Regions from separate parts of the Homo sapiens genome. Here region 1 is linked to region 2. Evidence: promoter capture Hi-C in human tissues and cell types (Jung and others, 2019). All regions are on one chromosome and are shown on one strand. The core of a region is centred on a gene start or on the middle of the fragment in contact, and the rest is flanking DNA. Distances in the headings are between cores, read along the strand shown. Region 1 has its middle 22 kb from the start of C14orf180. Region 2 holds the start of KIF26A (kinesin family member 26A).

Region 1 (4,685 bases), core at 1,873-4,372, 420 kb before region 2:
GCAGCCTGGGGACCTGCCTCAAGAAGGATGGCAGTGCTGGATGCCTGAGTGCCCTCCTGGTCTCCCACCCCCTGAACGCCCATGGTCGGGGAACATAACCTCGTCTCTGCGGGCGAGGCACACTCTGCCTGTGGGGCCAGTGTGGAGAAGCTGGTCAGGAACTGGAGGCCTGAAACTCGGGTCAGGAAAACCCCATGTCTGTCCCTGGGTGTGCATCAGACCAGGAAGAGGGACAAAGGCCACAGCAGCCCCGGGGAGATGCCAGTGGGTGAGTGTGCCTGGAGATGGGGATGGAGGGAGGCCGGGTGGCAAGGAGGCCTCACATGCCAAGGCTATGGCACGGCCTGGAAGGCTGGTGAGGGGATGTGGGCTCTGCCTGCACCAAGGGCAGCCCTGGGCAGGCAGAGGTGAGCCATGGCCATGGTCAGGGAAGGTGGAACCGCTGGGCCGTCACCTTGCACGGTGGTCCCAAGGCCAGCATCCCCGGGTGCTGGGACAGCATGGGGCACAACAGCCAGCCCACATAGAAATGAGGCAACGGGTCACAAGTGCAAACCCACAGCTAGTGAATATTTAACGCCTAACAAAAGTGCATGCATCATTAACCAGGTGCTGGTGGAGGAGCTGGAATAATTTGTCTTCTTAAAGGGGATTTGGTAATTTGTTAAGCTATTTTGAAACCTGCAGTCTAGCTGTGGGAGCCGCTCTGATTTCTAAATTAATTTGTGTGATTTAGAAAGTGGAAGCCTCTTGGTTCTGCAGGGGCCGCGGGCAGCAGGGCGGCCTTGCAGGCTCCTAGGTGTGCTCTGCATTTGTTGATTGTCCCATCCATGGGGACCCTGCTGAGGAGCTCGGCCCTGTGCACCCCGCCTCTCCCACCACCCTTGTTTCCATATGTGGAACCCAGTGGTCCCCCACCTCCCGGATGAGTTAGTTTACGAGCAGGTGCCACGGGAAGGTGGTCTCTGGAGGCTCAGTTTAACCCCCCTCCTAAGAGGATGCTCTTGGGCTGGAGGTGGGTGAGGCCATCTGGCCTGGAGCTGCTGGGCTTGGCTCTGAGATTGGCTGACACATCTGCAGTTCAAGGACCAGGCTGTGAGAGTCAAAGGGTGAGTTGTAACTATCACAGAGGTGACCACATGAAAAGCCCCAATTTCCAGCCCCAGATCCCCAGACCGTGAATCCCAGCTGTGGGTCACTGACTGGGAGCCTGCACTGTATCCTTCAGGGCCCTGGCAGGCCCCACAGGGCATCGCCACCCAGCTGGCGCCATCCCTGAGTCTCCGAAGGCCAGTCTGCCAGCCTCTCAGGCTGGCAGCTGCCAGACAGTGGGGACGTCAGACCAGTGGATTCTGTGAGGTTGAGTCCATTGCAGCTCGAAGGGAGACCCTTGGCTAACAGCAATGTTGTGCGGAAGGCCAGGCTGATGGGGAAAGATGGTCATATTTGCAGAAGCCTTGTGGCCAGGAAAGACCAGTCCATATTCAGATTAAGCGTCTCTTCTAGTGAGAACTAAGCGCTGCCTCTTTCATACAAAAGCAGTCCAACGTCATCACCTGTCACGGCTGCCCTGGTGATGGTGCTTCAACCTGTACTGAGCCTCAGTTTACCTCCCTAGCCAAACCTGAGTCCACCTCCCAGCTGAGCCTGGGTCCATCACCCCAGCTGAGCCTGACTCTACCTCACAGCTGAGCCTGGGGCCACCTTCCAGCTGAGCCTGAGTTCACCTTCCAGCTGAGCCTAAGTTCACCTCCCAGCTGAGCCTGGTTCCTCCTCCTAGCTGAGCCTGATTCCACCTCCCAGCTAAGTCTGGGTCCACCTCCCAGCTGAGCCTGGGGCCACTTTCCATCTGAGCCTGAGTTCACTTCCTGGCTGAGTCTGGGCCCACCTTCCAGCTGAGCCTGAGTCCACCTCCCAGCTGAGCCTGAGTCCATCATCCCAGCTGAGCCTGAGTCCACCTCCCAGCTGAACCTAGGACCATCACCTCAGCTGAGCTTGAGTCCACTTCCGAGCTGAGCCTGTGGCCATCATCCCAACCGAGTCTGAGTTCATTTCCCTGTTGAGCCTGGGTCTACCTCCCAGTCAAGTCTGAGTTCACCTCCCAGCCGAGCCTGGGTCTACCTTCCCAGCTGAGATGGGCCCTTGTGATTTGAGCCTATATCCCTATGGAGCCGTGTTCACCATGAGTGATTTTGTGGGTCCCTTCATTTGGTGACTTCTGGGTGTCAAGCACAGAGAGTTAAGTGAATCCCACCTGGATTGGCTGGGGGTCCCCAGCCAAGCATGCCCATCCTCTTGGTGGCCCACTCCTCACAAGCCTGGGACATCAGACCCTTGGGCAGCTCCTGAGCCCGACACACAGGGTCTGTTGGTGTGTCCTGGAATGGTGGGGAGGTGGTCCCTGGAAGAAGAGTAGGGGTGATCTGGCACACTGCTCTCTCCACGAGCCGTGGCCCGTCAGAGCCTGAGCACCTGAGGGACTTTGCCAGGCCTCTCAGCACTGGAACTGCTTCTCTCTGTCAGGCATCTGCTGCTGGCTCCAGAGGGGGATCTAGACAGGGGAGCAGAAGCCTCTCCAGCCTTGCCCTCAGATGGGCTGTGCGGAGGAGGGTCTCCTGCTCCCTGGGAACTAGAAGACATGGCAGAGAAGTCTGTGGTTTCCTTTGATTCTGGAAGGTTCTGGGGCAACTAGGGAAGGGTCAGGTTAGAGACTCTTACTGGGGAGGGGTGGCCAGCCGGGAGTGGACACAGTGACCATTTCCTGCAGGGCTTGGGGGCCTGGCTGGGGGCTGGCTGTGGGGGCTCAGGGCGTCACTCCCTGGGTGGGTGAGGGGGCCTGGGGGCTCCTGCAGACGCTGCCTTCCCTGACTCCCTGTCTTCTCTCAGCTCCCCGGGGCCTTTGGCCATAATTTGGTTTGGGCATCCTCAGTCTGTGTGGGCTGGAAGTCCCTGAGGGGATCTCCTTTTGGGCTCCTCTCCTTGGGCTGCAGGAAGAGGGGGTGACCCTCTGGCCCACGTGAGCCTGTCTGGCCGGGCCAGCCCATTGCCAGTGTCCACTGGGACAGGATTTGAGGGCCATGATGGCCACTTCCTCTGAGCTCCAGGTTGGACAAGGCTGCACAGGGAGCTCGGGTGTCCCTCTGGGCCAGAGGAGAGCCCTGGACCCCGGGGGACCAGCCCAGGCACAGTGTCACCGCAGCCCTCTTGTCTATCCCTGAGTGCCCCACCTGCTCCTGAGTGGCCCCCTAGTCCCTCGTCCCTCCAGGGGTGCAGAGCTTCATGCAGGAGGCTGGGAGCCTGGGGTGAGGGGCAGGGCTGGGCATGTCTTCAGAACGATGTGCTCCAGCAAAGCCCAAGCCGGGGCTCCAGCAAAGCCCAAGCAGGGGCTTCAGCTGCCACAGCCTCTGGCTTTGAAGATGGCAGCCCCGACAGCTTCTTTTCCATCTATAGTGCCTTTTTCAAGCTCTGGGCTTCAAAGCCAGCCTCGTAGCTCCTGGAGAGGCTCAGCCCCTGCTGGATATGACTGGGGTGGGGTGGGGATGGGAGATGGGGGAAGAAGAGCTGTGTCCCCAGGGACAGCGCTGGTGGCCTCAAGCCACTGAGATTGAACTTGAGGGAAGGGAAGCTGTGACCCCAGGGCAGATGGCAGATGCTCAGTTGGGTGTTTGCTCCTGGGAAAGGAGCAGAGATGACTGTGGATGGCCATCTCCACAACCCCCTCCCCAGCTCTGCAGAGCAGCCGCTTTTCTAGGAGCTCATCCAGTCCTTGCTGTACAGGTAGGGAAACTGAGGCTCAGAGAGACTCGCCCACAGCTGCACAGCAGGCAGGTGAGGGGCTGGACCCCTCCTGGGTCCTTCTTTCTGGCAGGGCTCACATGGCTCTGATTTTGGACTGCTGATCCCCACCTGGAGACCCACTAGGTGGGGAGCCTGCCCCTGGTCCCGCAAGCCCAGAATCTCTCCACAGGGCTTTTCAGTGAGGCCGCCGAGCCTCCAGCCTCCTCTTTGTTCTGCCCAGCGCAGTGCCTCAGCAGCTTTCTCCATGGCTGGATGCATCCTGAAATTATCTTTCCATTAAAAATAAATGCCCCATTTTATCTGCCTGAAATGGCCCTGCTCTCTGATTGTCTTTTCCGTGCCGCTGTATATGGAGAACTATAAAATCATAATACAACTATTAATCCCCTGTATCTGCTTGTACCTAATTTTTATTAAAAATATCCTGTGCTCCAGCTGCCTTGTAAATTATAGTGAGGTTGAAAAGTCTCCAACTGGATTAGCCAGGAAGGAGAGCGTATTGGATCGGAGACAGGCTCACTCTGGAGCACGGGGCCTGGCGGTGTGGGTTAGGAACATGGCAAAGCGATGCTGGGGCTGCCCCGTGCCCTGGGCAGCTGGGGGAAACTGGTCTCCATGGCTCAGTGGCAGCCTGCCTCCCCCTCCCAGCCTGGGCTCCCTGGGCCTGGGATGGGCTCAGGGGTCTGGTGCAGAGGAGCTCAGGGCCACCAGAAGTCCTGGCTCTGCTGCTCCTGGTGTCACCCCATGCAGACTCAGGCTTGAGTCCAGCTGCCATGACCATGGGCCATGGGACTCTTCTGAGGTGCAGTTTGCCCCCTGCACAGAGGAGTCACAGCGGTGCTGAGGGGAGGGCGGGGAGCAGAGTCCGGGGGTCTTTGCCTTCCAAG
Region 2 (4,741 bases), core at 484-2,983:
CCACCCCAGGACAGGCCCACAGGCGCCTGGCCTGAGCCAGAGAGAGGCTACAGCAATCCTATCCCTCGCCGAGACTCCAGAGAGCCCGGAGACGGTGCCCAGGACAGAAACCAGACTGGTACCCTGCCCCACCCTGCCCTGCCCCAGACAGGGCAGTCAGGGTCTCAGCTCACTCCAACCCCCACAGCCCTTAGAGAACTATATTTAGATTCAATGGGGATTATGCGGACTTCCCAGGAACTCTTTCATAAAGGCTGAAGGCCCGGCAGCGGGCTTCCTCTGGAGACCCCCACCCGCCCCCAGCCTTTGCAAACTTCCAGCATGCATTGTTCCTGGAACAATGGTCCCTGCTCCCTCCAAAGCCGGCAGGCCCACTGGCTGGAAATCCAGGAGAACCCCTCCCCTGCAAGCACCTGCCCCTGGGGCTGGAGCCTGGGGAACCCAGAGGGCCCCGACTCAATTCCCCATGGGCGGCCACTGCCTCAGTCTATCCCAGGAGGTATGGGACAACAGTTCTTATCCTTGAGGCTGGGAGAGGAGTAGGCAGGGACCCCCCAGCTGCTGTGGCCCACCCTTTCACCTGCCAGGCCCCCCGGCCCCAGGTATGTAATTTCCAGACACCTGGCTGGGGGCCCAGGTGCCCCAAGGGCCACAATGCACCAAATAACCTCTCCCTGCTGGTAGGGCTGGAGCTGTCCCGCCCTGGGTGGAGTCCCTGCCATCCGCTCTCTCCCCTCCTCCTCCCACACAAACCTGCGTTCCAGCTGTGGGACATCTGGGCTGGGGGAGGAACGCCAGCCCAGGCCCCTCCCATCCGAGGCAGCAGGGCCCCTCGGGCTGAGCTCCCTAGCTCACACATGGTGTTACAGACCGGGAAACTGAGGCCCGCAGAAGGGAAGTCCTGGCTGATAACTCTTTGTGGAAACAGCAGCAGGGAAGGAGTGGAACCCTGCTTCCCTCCAAGCCCCAAGTTCTACCCAAGTTCGGCGTGGCCCTGCTCGGAGGGGTCGGCCTAAGGAAGTGTCACTTACCCGGAGGGTGGTCCCGGGCCCGCTGACCAGCTTCCACGCCTGTCGCTTGAGCTCCACCAGCTTCGTGTGGCAGTGGCGGCACCAGCCGCCTCCGCCGGCCGAGTGGCCCTGCTCTGGGCCGGCCCCGGCGCCTTCGGGAGCAGGGCGGCTGCCGCATGGGTCCTGGTCGGGCCCGGCGGGTAGCCTCTTTCGGGGGGACACCTCCAGCAGCGGCGGCGGCTCGCGGGCCGGGCCGCCCTCGGCCACCTGCAGGGTGTGGGGGCGGAAGCGGACAGTGAGCCTGGGACGTCCGTCGGATCCAGACCCCTGCGCGCCCTGCCCCAGCGTGACGCTCTTGCCAAAGTTAGGAGCCCTGGGCACGACCCTGGCGCTCACCCACTCCCTCCATCCCCGGAGGTCCCGCCTGCGGGTCCGCTACCCTCAGCAGGAGGCCCGGCCCCCAGGGATCCAGCGCACACCGCGAGTATCTTCGCCGTCCCGGGCCCCCGCCGCCCGCCTCCCTCTCCAGGCCGGGCCGCGCGTACCGCGGGCTGCGCAGCGCACAGAGGGACGCCGCGGCCGACCATGGCCGGGGCGCGGGAAGAGCCCGGCAGGCGCTCCCGGCCACGCTGGCTCTCCGGGGGCGCCGCGGCTACGTGATCCGGCCCCGAGGCGCCCCCATGGCCCGGCCCAGCCGCTCGGAAGTTCGCAGAGCCTGCGAGTGTCGCGAGGAGCGCGGTGGCTCCGGTGGGCGCGCTCGGGAGGCGAGGGCGGGGCCGGGGAAGGGCGGGGCTCGGGCTCCCGGGGCGGGCGGCGAGGGGCGGGAGCCCAGAGAGTGCCCCGCCCTTGCCCAGTGCTGGGCGGCGCGTGGGGGGGGTAGGGTCCCCGCTTCCCCACGCGGCCCCGCGCACTCCAAGGACCCCAACCTGTTAGGTGAGTCCCTGCCCCGGGGAGGGGCGCTGGGGGCGGCGGCGAGGATCTAGTTGCGCGCGCGCATGCGCCTCCCGCCCCTCTCCCGGGACACCAGGGCTGCGCGTCTCCCAGGAGGCGCCGACGCCCCTCCCTCTACAGGCGGGAAAACTGAGGCTGCGGAGGGGACGCTCTTGCCCAAGGCCCACGGCGAGGTGGGCCGAGGAAGGGGCGGGACCCCGGCCCCGAGACTCCCAGGCGCCTTTCCAGCAAGCCCAGCGTACTCTGCGTGTCGCGGGCCACTTTAGGTCTAACTGTCGCGCGTGGGTTAGTGTCGCCGCGGTGTGCGCCTCGAGCCGGGCAGCGACCGCGCCGGCGTATCTGTGCCTCGGCGCGTCTGCGAACGGCACGTGTCTTTACAGCCGCGCGTGTGCCCGCAAGTGGGTGTGCGCGCCGTGCCGCCCGGGAAGCGGGAGGTCCTGCGGGCGTGCGCCGGACCTGTTGTCAGCAGGCCTGGCAGATGGGAACTCAGCTCCGGAATTAATTGCTTGTTTGTCTCCGGCTGGGAGGCCGCCCCCCCGCCCTTCCCTGGCGACCAGTTGCTCTGTGCCTAGCCGGGCCCCAAATGTCGCCGGCATCCGCGGCCGCAGGCAGCTCCGGGCCAGGCTCCGGGTCAGCCCCAAAGCCCGGGTCAAGCCAGGCGGGCGCGGCGGGCGGGCTCCCCGTGACGCGAGTGCCCCCTGCCGGCCGCTGCGCACACGGCTCCGAGACTGGGGAGACAGCGCCGCGCGTCCCAGGCCTGAGGCGCACTCGGAAACTCCGAAGGTCGTGACCCGGCGGAGACCAGGACACGCGGCTGCCGGCACATACGGTGAGGCCTTCGCAGAGACTCAGTACGTCAAAGTGACCCTTTCCGTTTTGCCCACCCCCTTTTACTTGGATAAGCCTCCCCGCCCACGCACGCACTCCCCAGAAAGTGGGGTGGGTGATCCCCTCCCGGCTTTCCGGGTCGTTGATGACCTTAGGGGTTCGAAAACGCAAGGGGGTATGGAATAAAGTGGCAGGGGCTCTCCACTCTTTCTGAGATCCGTAAGCCTGCAGTCGCTTTCCACCCAGCCTGGGGGGCCGGAAGCGCTTCCCCTACCCGTCTCTTCGCAGCCTGGAGAATGAAAACGGGCGTCAGCCCACATCTGGATCTGGGTACTGAGGACAACACCCAAACCCCACCCCGCACTGCCGGCAGACAGCACCGCCTCCCGCCGCTCCACTGCTCCGGGACACACACTCTCTATATCCCGTCCCCCCACCCACACACGCAACACAGAAGCACGCAGCGGTCGGGAGCACCGGTCCTGCGCCCCTGGCCAGCCACACCCGCAACTTCAGCGCTTCTACCGCCGCGGCGCTTCGGGAAGCACAAGCTCACATCCCATATCCGCAGAACACGGGGTGCACAAGGCTGGAGTCACCTCGGGGGCTCACGATCAGTCAGGGGCCCCGACCCCCTACTTCGCCCATCCTAGCAAGGCGCAAGGTGAGCCCGAGAATCCCTGCGCTGCGCTCTCCGCCCTAGCCACAGCCTCCGGGTGGGTCCGGTTGGGACACAGCCTTGAAGGCAGAGGGAGACTTGGACAACGCTAATGGGGGAAAGTGCGGCAGCGAGTCCCAGCCCGGGCTGCGGGACGCGGCTCCGGACCTGCCGTCTCCTTCCCGGCGCAGCACCCCCGGCCGCGCGAGCCGCGCGGCAAAGTAACGGGACGGCGCCTACGCCGCCCGCCCCCCTCCCGACAGCCCTCACCTTGCCTCGTCGCCGCAGGAGGTGGCTGGTGAAGCCCAGGATGATCTCCGAGTCCAGGCAGAGCGCCCCCATCTCCAGCAGGCTGGGAGCCTTGCGGGGCGCGCCGCGGGGCGGCTCGGGCGGCTGGGGCAGCGCCATGGAAGAGGGAAGCGCGGGGAGCGGCCCCTAGTGCCTCCCGCCACCGCCGCCCCGCCCGCGCGTTCACTGGCCGCGCGCCCGCCGCCGCCGCGCCCCGCACCGCGCAGGGCCGCCCGTCAAGCCCCCGGTCCTCCGCGCCCCGCGCCCCCGAGCCCTGCGCTCGCTCCGCGCCGCGCGCCCCCGCGCTCCGGCCCCGCCCGCCTGCGCCGACAGCGCCCCTTCCGCCCCGGCGGCGAGCCAGACACCAGCCACGCGGACTGGAGGTGTGGGGCGACGGCCCCGCGCGCCACTGGGCGGAGGTTGGAAGCCAGAATCGGGTCGCGGTCCGCGCCCACCTGCCTCGCTAGCCCCCAGACGTCGGTGTCTACTGCCGGGTATCCGGCAGGGAGAGGGCAGCGCGGCTGCTGTAAAACCCTTCCGACTGGGGCATAATCGCAGCCCCTTCCCCCTCCAATCTGTCCTGAGGACACGGCGCGTTGGGGTCCTGGCCCATGGAAACGCTCAGAGCCCAGTGACCTGTGCACTCCACCCCGCCCACGCTCCAGAGCCCCCGTTCAACCTTGGCCTATGGACCTCCAAGGCCCACCCCAACCGGACCACGGAGCGTGCGCAGCGGGACCCGCAGTCTGCGCCTCCACTCCAGGATCCCGATTGTGCCGCCACCCGTGGCCTTCCCTGCCCCGACCCCGACTCCCTGAGGGCTGGAAGATTCGGGCTGGCTGCCGGGCACGACGACTTTACTTTCAGGGTCCGAAGCTAGGGGCGGGGGTGGGCGCTCTGCCTGGGTGCAAACTCAAGCCCGGGTCCCGCGCTCCTCCTGTGGGCTGCCCCAGCCTCGCGCGCAAGTGGGTGAGATGCCTGGCTTGAGGGAGGAAGGGAGAGGATC

What was found. The method cuts DNA at HindIII sites, captures the fragments that hold promoters and counts their contacts. A contact is called where the count stands out against the background at its distance.
Region 1: a contact is called between a fragment that was not itself captured here and the fragment with the promoter of KIF26A in region 2, in 1 of the 25 tissues and cell types used here (lymphoblastoid cells).

Annotation. Positions count from the first base shown.
Region 1 is chr14:104,555,040-104,559,724 of GRCh38, reverse strand. No RefSeq gene overlaps it. Among named protein-coding and RNA genes, the nearest start is that of C14orf180, 22 kb to the left of the region's middle. The HindIII fragment of the contact is 7,980 bases long and covers 1-4,685 here.
Region 2 is chr14:104,135,579-104,140,319 of GRCh38, reverse strand. It overlaps KIF26A (kinesin family member 26A), which reads right to left and starts at 1,733. Exons shown (of 15, transcript NM_015656.2): 1 at 1,556-1,733; 2 at 1,032-1,277. The coding sequence starts at 1,597. It overlaps KIF26A-DT (KIF26A divergent transcript), which reads left to right and starts at 1,691. Exons shown (of 3, transcript NR_158217.1): 1 at 1,691-2,790; 2 at 3,078-3,453. RefSeq lists a silencer at 2,565-2,734 and enhancers at 2,431-3,142, 3,143-3,854, 4,141-4,714. The HindIII fragment of the contact is 16,750 bases long and covers 1-4,741 here.